3 separate regions of the Homo sapiens genome follow, and all the other regions are linked to region 2. Evidence: promoter capture Hi-C in 16 types of primary human blood cells and fetal thymus (Javierre and others, 2016). All regions are on one chromosome and are shown on one strand. Each heading gives the region's core, a stretch centred on a gene start or on the middle of the fragment in contact. The rest is flanking DNA. Distances are from core to core; before and after follow the strand shown.

The links. Contacts are between HindIII fragments. The CHiCAGO score rates a contact against its expected background, and 5 or more counts as called.
Region 1: the fragment with the promoter of EXD2 here is called in contact with a fragment that was not itself captured in region 2 in 2 of 17 cell types (naive CD8 T cells and total CD4 T cells); the score reaches 6.4 in naive CD8 T cells.
Region 3: a contact is called between the fragment with the promoter of SUSD6 here and a fragment that was not itself captured in region 2, in 1 of 17 cell types (fetal thymus). The highest score is 8.1, in fetal thymus.

Annotation. Positions count from the first base shown.
Region 1 is chr14:69,190,169-69,192,868 of GRCh38, forward strand. It overlaps EXD2 (exonuclease 3'-5' domain containing 2), which reads left to right and starts at 1,330. Exons shown (of 10, transcript NM_001193360.2): 1 at 1,330-1,423. All of the region lies in intron 3 of GALNT16-AS1 (GALNT16 and EXD2 antisense RNA 1), which reads right to left. RefSeq lists a silencer at 1,551-1,740. The HindIII fragment of the contact is 2,229 bases long and covers 1-2,054 here.
Region 2 is chr14:67,811,260-67,813,959 of GRCh38, forward strand. All of the region lies in intron 3 of ZFYVE26 (zinc finger FYVE-type containing 26), which reads right to left. Among named protein-coding and RNA genes, the nearest start is that of ZFYVE26, 4.0 kb to the right of the region's middle. The HindIII fragment of the contact is 198 bases long and covers 1,158-1,355 here.
Region 3 is chr14:69,610,302-69,613,085 of GRCh38, forward strand. It overlaps SUSD6 (sushi domain containing 6), which reads left to right and starts at 1,295. Exons shown (of 6, transcript NM_014734.4): 1 at 1,295-1,527. RefSeq lists a silencer at 1,044-1,813. The HindIII fragment of the contact is 10,737 bases long and covers 1-2,784 here.

The DNA.
Region 1 (2,700 bases), core at 80-2,579, 1.4 Mb after region 2:
TTGTTGGAACAAAGTCTTTTCACATATTCAGATTCAGTTGATACCGCCAAACAGTTAAACAAAGTGATTGCATCAATTTATGTTCCCTTCAGGAGCATATGAGAGTTGTGGTTGCTCCACAATCTTGCCAATACTTGACATTTTCTTTTTCATTTAGCTATATCTCATTGTGGTTTTAATTTGCATTTCCTCTTTATCCTTTGTTTTTTAAGTGTTTCAAGATGGAGCAGATAAAAATTCAGGGAGTTAATCCTCTATAATAGCTGGAAATTTCCCCCATGGGTACTCATTCAATGGAATTTAAAACATTTGCCCCTGTATTGAAGGCAATATAGTATAAAGGATGGGGCCACATGCTCTGCAATCAGAAATATGAGGTTTGATTCCTAACTCCGGTGCTTACTTGCTGAATTACCTTGAGGAAGTTATTTAACCTTTTTCTATTTTATGTAAAACGGCACTAATAATAGTACTGCCTCACAGGGTTGTTATGGGGATTAAAGGAGAAAAAATAAGTAAAATGCTTTGCAAAGTTCCTAGCAACAGGTGAGCACAAAGTCAACAAATGGTAGCTATTATTATACCTTATATTGGTTATTTATGCACATCTCATTTCTCCTTCTGTTTTACACATTCCATGAGAAAGGAAAAGCATGCATGTAGCACAGATTAACTGCCTCACATATAATTGCTAATAAAGACTGATTGGATGAACGATTTAATATATAAACAAAAAGTATTGTGGTTATCGCTATAAAAGATGGCATAGGTTGGGCATTCACGCCTGTAATCCCAGCACTTTGGGAGGCCGAGTTGTGAGGTTCGCTTGAGCCCAGGAGTTCGAGACCAGCCTAGGCAATGTAGGGAGACAGTATCTACAAAAAAAAAAAAAAAAAAAAAAAAGGAGGGTACATAAAATTATTATAGTGGCTATAGGATAATGTGCACTGCTAATGAAGACTACATTATTTAAATACAGTGTCTTTCCTTCTATTTACTGTTATCGTTTAGCAGAAAAACAGTACGCAGGATACTAAAGAAGGAAAATTCGATGTCCCATATTACATTTGTGAGAGTTCTGGAGGTTTCTCCCTTCAAAGCCAAAACCAAAACACAAACATACCATCCCAGTAACAAATGCGTCACTTTTCTGAAGAAGACGTTAAGCCCTTCCAATTTTAACAGATCCTTTGTTCAACAGAGGAGAGAGACTGGGTAGGCATCACCTGCCCCAGTAGCTTCCGTACAAAATGGCGTTGCCCGTTCCCACACGCCAGCTGGGATTACGTCCTCCAGGCCTGTCGCAGGAACGGAAGTGGTTACGGCCCTAGTGAATCCGGGTGGGTGCGCGCAGGCGGCCGCACAGGTTCCAGGTCTTTAACGTGAGCCCGCTGCAGGTGTGCGGCCCAGTCCGAGACAGCAGGTAAGTGAGGCTCAGAAGCCGGCGAAGCCTTGCACCAGGATTGTGCGCGGGGCAGGGGGTGCTTCCAGTGCAGACTAAGAGGGGTCGTGGAGCGGGGGGATATTACCGTGTACGGGGGTGACATTGCGGGGCCCCCGCTGTCCCGGAGCGAGTTGGCCCTGCCCCTCTCCCCGCCCCTCGGCGTGACCCCCTCGCCCCCGTCGCACACGGCGGGGCGGTTCAGCACCCAGGTGCGCAAGGAGGGCCTCACCCCTGCCCGCGGCCTCCCACGCCCTCCTTGGGCCTCTCCTTTCGACCCCCTTACCCTCTCCCTGGGAGACTCTACCAGACCTTCGAGGCTGCGTGTCCCAGTCAGCTAAAAAGGAGGCCCCGCCCGCGGCACCTGGTAGCTCCTCGGGCGCTGCGGGTTCGACGCGGCAACAGCTGCTGTTTTCTCTCCTGGATTCGTGTGAGCCGCCACCCTCGCTACCATCCCTGTCCTCCCAGACCACACCCTGCTCTGGGCCTTGCCGGGAGCCACCTCTTTGGCTTTTCACATCCCTGGGATGGATCAAAACTAAGAACCTTAATCATTATTTATTACAAAATTGACATCTGCTCCTTAAAATACAAACAAACCAATCCCCCGATAAGCTTTTGATATGATTCCAACATTCAAACTCCTTTATATACCCTCTCCTCAAAAACACAAAATTGAAATTATACTTTATTTTCTTAGTTCTGTTCCAAGGATAGAAGGAATTGAAAGGTTTTGTTAATCATAGGAATTAGGAAGTGCGGGTTGGGGCGCAGCGGGGAAGATGGATTAAATTTGGTCAAGTTGAGCTTGTTTTAAAAATGTATTTTTAAAATATTCTAGTTATAGTCCGTGCATAAAGCCTTGTAACAAAATTATGTAAAAATTTTAAACACAGATCTTTCTTAGCTTGATGTTCTTGGTGGTGAGGGTGGGGAGTGTGGAAGACAGATCCTCTTTGATTTTGTTTTTTTCCATCTCCACCTTCTTTACCAGTCCCTTTCCCACAAAATAAGAACTGTTGTCAGTTTGTGTGTATTTTTCTTTGCATTTATTTGACAAGTATGTGTACGTATAAGATATATGTTTGTAAGATTTCGCTTTAAACTTTTACAAATATGCATGTTTTATGCATTACACAACTTGACGTTTTATGCTTAAAAACGGGTCTTGGAATTTTTTCTTTGTCAGTACCTAGAGATCTACCTATTCTTTCTACTTGCTCTGTAAATTCCATGGTTATGTAAGATTCCATAGATTG
Region 2 (2,700 bases), core at 7-2,506:
AACTACTTTAAACATATTCAGGATCATAATTGACTAACATTTATCTTCCTAAAATAGGCAAGAATTTGCTCAGCATTTCTAAGCAAGGATGTCATGCAAAAGTGGAACCAAAGACAAAATTAATTCTGGTGACCGAGAGGAGCAAAAATTTAAAAAACTGGCAAAATTATAGACATCTTAAAAGTAGAATTTGTGGTTTCTTAGTTTTAAGTCCATCTGGGCTAAAAAAGTAGTGTTAAGGCAGAAAAAGCAGAGGATTGAGGTCAGAAGATTTTGGTTTCAGCAGCAGTTCTGTCAAATAACTTTACGGTTACAAGAGCAAGGCATGTTCAATGTAGAAAAATTGAATATACAAATAAGTAAACTAAAATATGTTATATATATATAAAACATATGTATGTCCAGTTAGTCTTATTTCTGCTATTTCTCTAAGATAAAGTGTTTTATCCTAGAGAGAGATATGTAACATATATGTTATATTTTAGTGCAATATAATATATATAACATATGTTAGTTTGCTTATTTGTATATTTAATTTTGTAATTTTACAAATTTAATTGGTGTATTTAGTTACATATGAAATATATAATATATAACATATATGAAATTTATGATATATAACAAATATAAAATATATGATATATAACATGTATTATATATGAAATATATATCACATATGAAATATATTACATATAACATATTATATATGAAATATATATTTTATATATATTCTCACTGAAGGAGAACAATTATGAAAACTGTGGTCTAAGGCCATTCATTCAGACCATTTGCTATGCACATCTCTATGCATGTATACCAAATGTACTTTTTTCTAAACTGCCTTTTTTCCCATACAGCAGACCATGAACACTCTATGTTAGTGAAAACTCATTTGCCAAATACTTTTGAATAGTGGTATAGTATTTTACATATAGATATATTTCCATTTATTAACCTGTCCTATACTATGGACATGGGAGTTGTTTCAGTTTTCTTCTAATAGAAGTAGCATAGACGTGAACATTTCTGCAGCTAAATCTTTGTATAATTGCTTACACATGGAGAGATACATCTCTGCAAGATTAAAAGGCAGAAGGCAAAAATGAATGGAGGAAAGGGAAAATAGAATCACTATTTCATCTAATAATTAAAAGGGAAGCTTTTGGCAAAAGGTGGGAACCTGGAAAAGGACAGGCAGCCAGTAAATTCCTAGATGATGAAGGCACCTTCAGGATAATGACTGGACTTGGAAAACTACCCCAAGAATTCACTGGACGCCATGGTGCTTATATAGTTTTAAAATTCTATGAGGAACTAAAATAGTCCCACAACTGTTTAAATAAGCAAGTCATTGAAGCTTTAAAGACCAAATAATCTATTTGTGAACCTGGGAAAAACAAGAACGGGAAGTGGAATCCATCTCCTGACATAGTTGAGCAACTGTCTAGAAAATAAGCAACCATTCAGATATAAAGTAAGCAAATAGTCTCTACTGAGGGGAAAGTTAATTTGATTTGACAAATTCCATGTTTGTACTAGAGAGATCCCTTAATCAGTAACAATAGTTCTTTTTCTCTTTGAAGATACTATAGTAACTATAGGTTACTATTTTAGTTCAAGTTTTCTCTTTTAAATCTGAAACCATAGCCAACTCTTAATGATGCTGGGTTTCATTATGTTTCAATCTTGTTTTTCTTTCTTCTCGCTCCTACTAGTCTTTCTGTCATTTTTCTTTCCTAAACAACTGGCTAAATCCTGGATAAGAGATACATTCAGATTAGCAATTTCTGTTACTTTTTGACAGCTCTGTGAGGAACGATAAATATCATGCAAAAGTGGAACCAAAGACAAAATTAATTCTGGTGACCGAGAGGAGCAAAAATTTAAAAAACTGGCGAAATTACAGACATTTTAAAAGTAGAATTTGTGGTTTCTTAAAGTCCATCTGGGCTAAAAAAGTAGTGTTAAGGTGGAAAAAGCAGAGGATTGAGGTCAGAAGATCTTGGTTTCAGCACCAGCTCTGTCAAATAACTTTACGGTGTGTCCTTGGGCCAGTCATTTCTAAGTTAGAGGTTCTTCACTTAAATCTCAAAGTCTGAAGTTCAATATGAAAATGTCTCAGAGTAATTCTTTTATAAGATATAAATTTCTGATAATTAACATACTTCTAAAAGGACTTTTAATGGAAGTTTATCTTTAAAAAAGGTAATTCCTTACCAGGTTTTTTTTTTCAATATTAATTTGCTTACTTGTTTTTATATCTGGTAATTTTCTGTTCAATTCATGTGAATTATTAAACTATGAATTAATGGAATTTGAATCTATGAGATGTCATGGAATTAGGCTAGTTAAAATATGATTTTTGGAAGAAAAACCAAGTTTCAGCTCAGCCCATTCTCTATTACTTAAATGTTGAATAGATCCAAATGTTACAGATTCATATTTTATTTGCTATTTTGTTACCTTCACTGAGTTTCCAAAAGTTCTCTTTAGGCACAAGACTCATGGTGGTATTTAACAAACAGTAATATATGCCAATGTATATTAGTGCATTAATGAATGAATTTAGGTAAGGAGACAGCAATAAAAATTTAAGCCATTCTTTGAGAATGAGTATGATGAATTTAATGATAAAGGAAGTAACAGACAGAAGGGAAATCCCACAACTACTTTCAAGTTCTTCTCAGTCCTGGCCTCGGA
Region 3 (2,784 bases), core at 45-2,544, 1.8 Mb after region 2:
CAAGGATAGACTTATGAAAAAGGCATTATAGCAACGAGCCACAGGTTGCTGTGGGGCCCAGAAGGGAAGGGTTCTTTTGGGGATGGGTCTGTGTGCATGGGGAGGAGCATCCTGTTTATTTGGTTCAAGCTACTTCACAAGGACATGCCCTGTTAATTCACAGTGCTTTTCCCGAAAGCCTACTAGAACTAGGCCTGGTGAGAGGCCCTGAGAAGGTGTATCCTTTTGTCCAAGAGCATCTGGGAGAAGAGGCCTGCCTGACCCAAGCTGCAGCAAAGACACAAGTCTGTAGGTCCAGATGTGGACTCTACCACTGATTTACAAGTAGGAGTTCCTTAACACTTATGGAGGACCTCTGAGACCGACACGGTGCAAGGCCCTGGGGTACAAAGATAAAAAGCCAGAGTCCTCCCCATCAAGGCGCCACGGGCCCTGTAAACACATAAACCGAGGACACACTGCATGAGAGATCACCAATAAACGATGTAGCCATACAGTGCACAAACTGCTCACTCAGTATGTGCTAGAAAATAGCCCCAGAAGGCAAGGCTCAAGAGGGGAAATACAGTTAGGAATGTGGCAGGCTTCTAGCCCGGGCTCTGCCAGTCCTGGCTCTGAACTGCGGTTTTCTCAACCTTGAGATCCCTTGTGTGCTTTTAGTATGCTGAAGGATCACTCACTTCAGAATGCTAGTGAAAATACAGATTCCCAAGTCCGACCCCACTGAATCACAATGGCTGGAGGTCATTCGGGGCCCCGAATCTGCATTTTCACCCCCACCCACCCCCCGGGCAGCTTTAATGTTGGCAGGCTAGGAACCACAGTTCGGATTACTGCTTAACAGGGAGATAATAACCTGCTTCAGACGAGCTAGGTCAGACGAGCAATTCAAGAGCTAACAAGGCAACATGCGCCAAAAGCCTTGTAAACCTCAGGGCAGTACAATTCTTTGCAAATAATAGTAATTCAATCATGCAAATAATAATAATAGTAAACGAACTGGAGAGCGCACTGGAAACGCCGCATAGTCCAGCTGAGTCGGTGCCACCGCCCCATCCACTCCAGCGCAGAGGGACTGTCTCTTTAAGGACCCCCCACCTCCCCAACCGCGTCGCTTCTCCCTTGGGTACCTGGCCCGGCCGGCGGCGCGTGCGTGCAGGGCCTCCCGGCGGGGCGGTCGCGGCGGCGCGACGCCGGCGCCGTTGCGTGCGCGCCTGGCCCTGCCCCTTTCCCGCCCCTTCCCCGCCCCCTCCCCTCCGCGGGGCCTCCCCCGCCCGCGCGGTACAGCTGGGTCAGTGACGCGGGCGCTGCAGCCGTCGCTACCGCCGCGTTCTATTCTCCGAAGCCGGCGACCGCCCCACCTCCTCCCTCCCTCCCGCCCGCTTCCTCTGCCCACAGCGCCGGCCAGAGCGAGCTAGACAAGGGCACGCGGGGCCTCGCCTAGACCCGAGAAGACTGCGGGCGCGCGCAAGCGGCGGCGTGGAAGCTGTGAGCGCCCCCATCCCGGAGGTCTCCGCCGGCTCCCGGGTGAGTTGTCACCGCGGCCCGGGGGCGGCGGGGCCGGCATTGTGCCATCGACGCGCTCGGCCGGCTGTCAGGGGCGCGGGACCAGCGCGCACCGCCCAGGAGTGACGCTGGCCGGAGCCCGGGCCGGCTTCGGCGGCTCCCCGCGCTTCTCTGCGCCGGCCCGCTGTCACCCGGCCGCGAGCCGCGCCGCTGGGAGCCCCGCGCTGGCGTGGCGCGGCCAGCCGGCCAGCAGTGGGGGCTGCGCGGCCGGGGGGACCGGCGGCTGGTTTGCGGCCGGGAACTTGGTGACCCGCGGTCCGGGGCGCGCCGTCCCGCGTCGCTGCCCGGGCAGCACCGGAAGAGCCAGACGCCGTGCCGATGGGTGCAGAGGAGGTAGGCAGAGGCCCTCTGTGCCACTGTCATTACTGCCCTCAGCCCAGCAAAGCTGCGGGGCTTGCGCTGGGGCAGGGCTGGCTTAGAGAAGGTGGATTTCCTGAGGAAATCTCAGAGCCCGCCTGTGCGCACCGCGGCATTCGGGAGCCCCCGCGCCTCGGCTGCTCTTTAATCTCAAAAACTTCTCTTATTAACCAGGCTAAACTCCCCGAAACCAGCTATTTTCTTTCAAAAAGTAGGCACGTACATACAGACTTTCCTTTTTTCGCTTGGTTTTGAGACCCCAGCTATGAGTGTGGATCTGACTCTCCCTCATGGGAGTCGTGGCTGGGGAGCTGCTGAAGTGGAGAAAAGTTACCCTGGACGAATTTAGGAGCAGGAGGGGGAGGTGGTTATGGGGACAGCAAGACCCAGGAGCAAAGAGGCGTCAAAATAAAGTCTTGGGCTGGTTAAAGGGAAGTTGGCGTCTGGGCAAGGAGGCCTAAAGCTGTTGTTCCCACAGAATTTTCTTTCAGTGGCAGGCGACATGCTGGGCTTTGTTGCTCTCGCTAACTGGGCTCCTGTGTGCTCTTCCAGAGGTGCAGTAAGATTACTCAGTTCAATTAGGCCTAGGGATTTACTCCCTTTTTTGATCTACAGAGATGGGAAGTATGTCTTTCCTTCACAGTAGTTAATTCATTTCTTGCTGTTTTCGTTCCTCTGGTGTAAAAACATACATAGGAGTTACGCACACACACCTTTTCTGTTTTGGGAATTCCACACCCAAACTGTCACCATCTAGTGGAGGCTAGTAGAGACATGTGCTTGGCACTGACTTCTGAGTTCTCTGGGTTTTGTGTTTTTAGCTAGAAGCATATTCAACCAGAAATTAAAATTTTCCTGGAG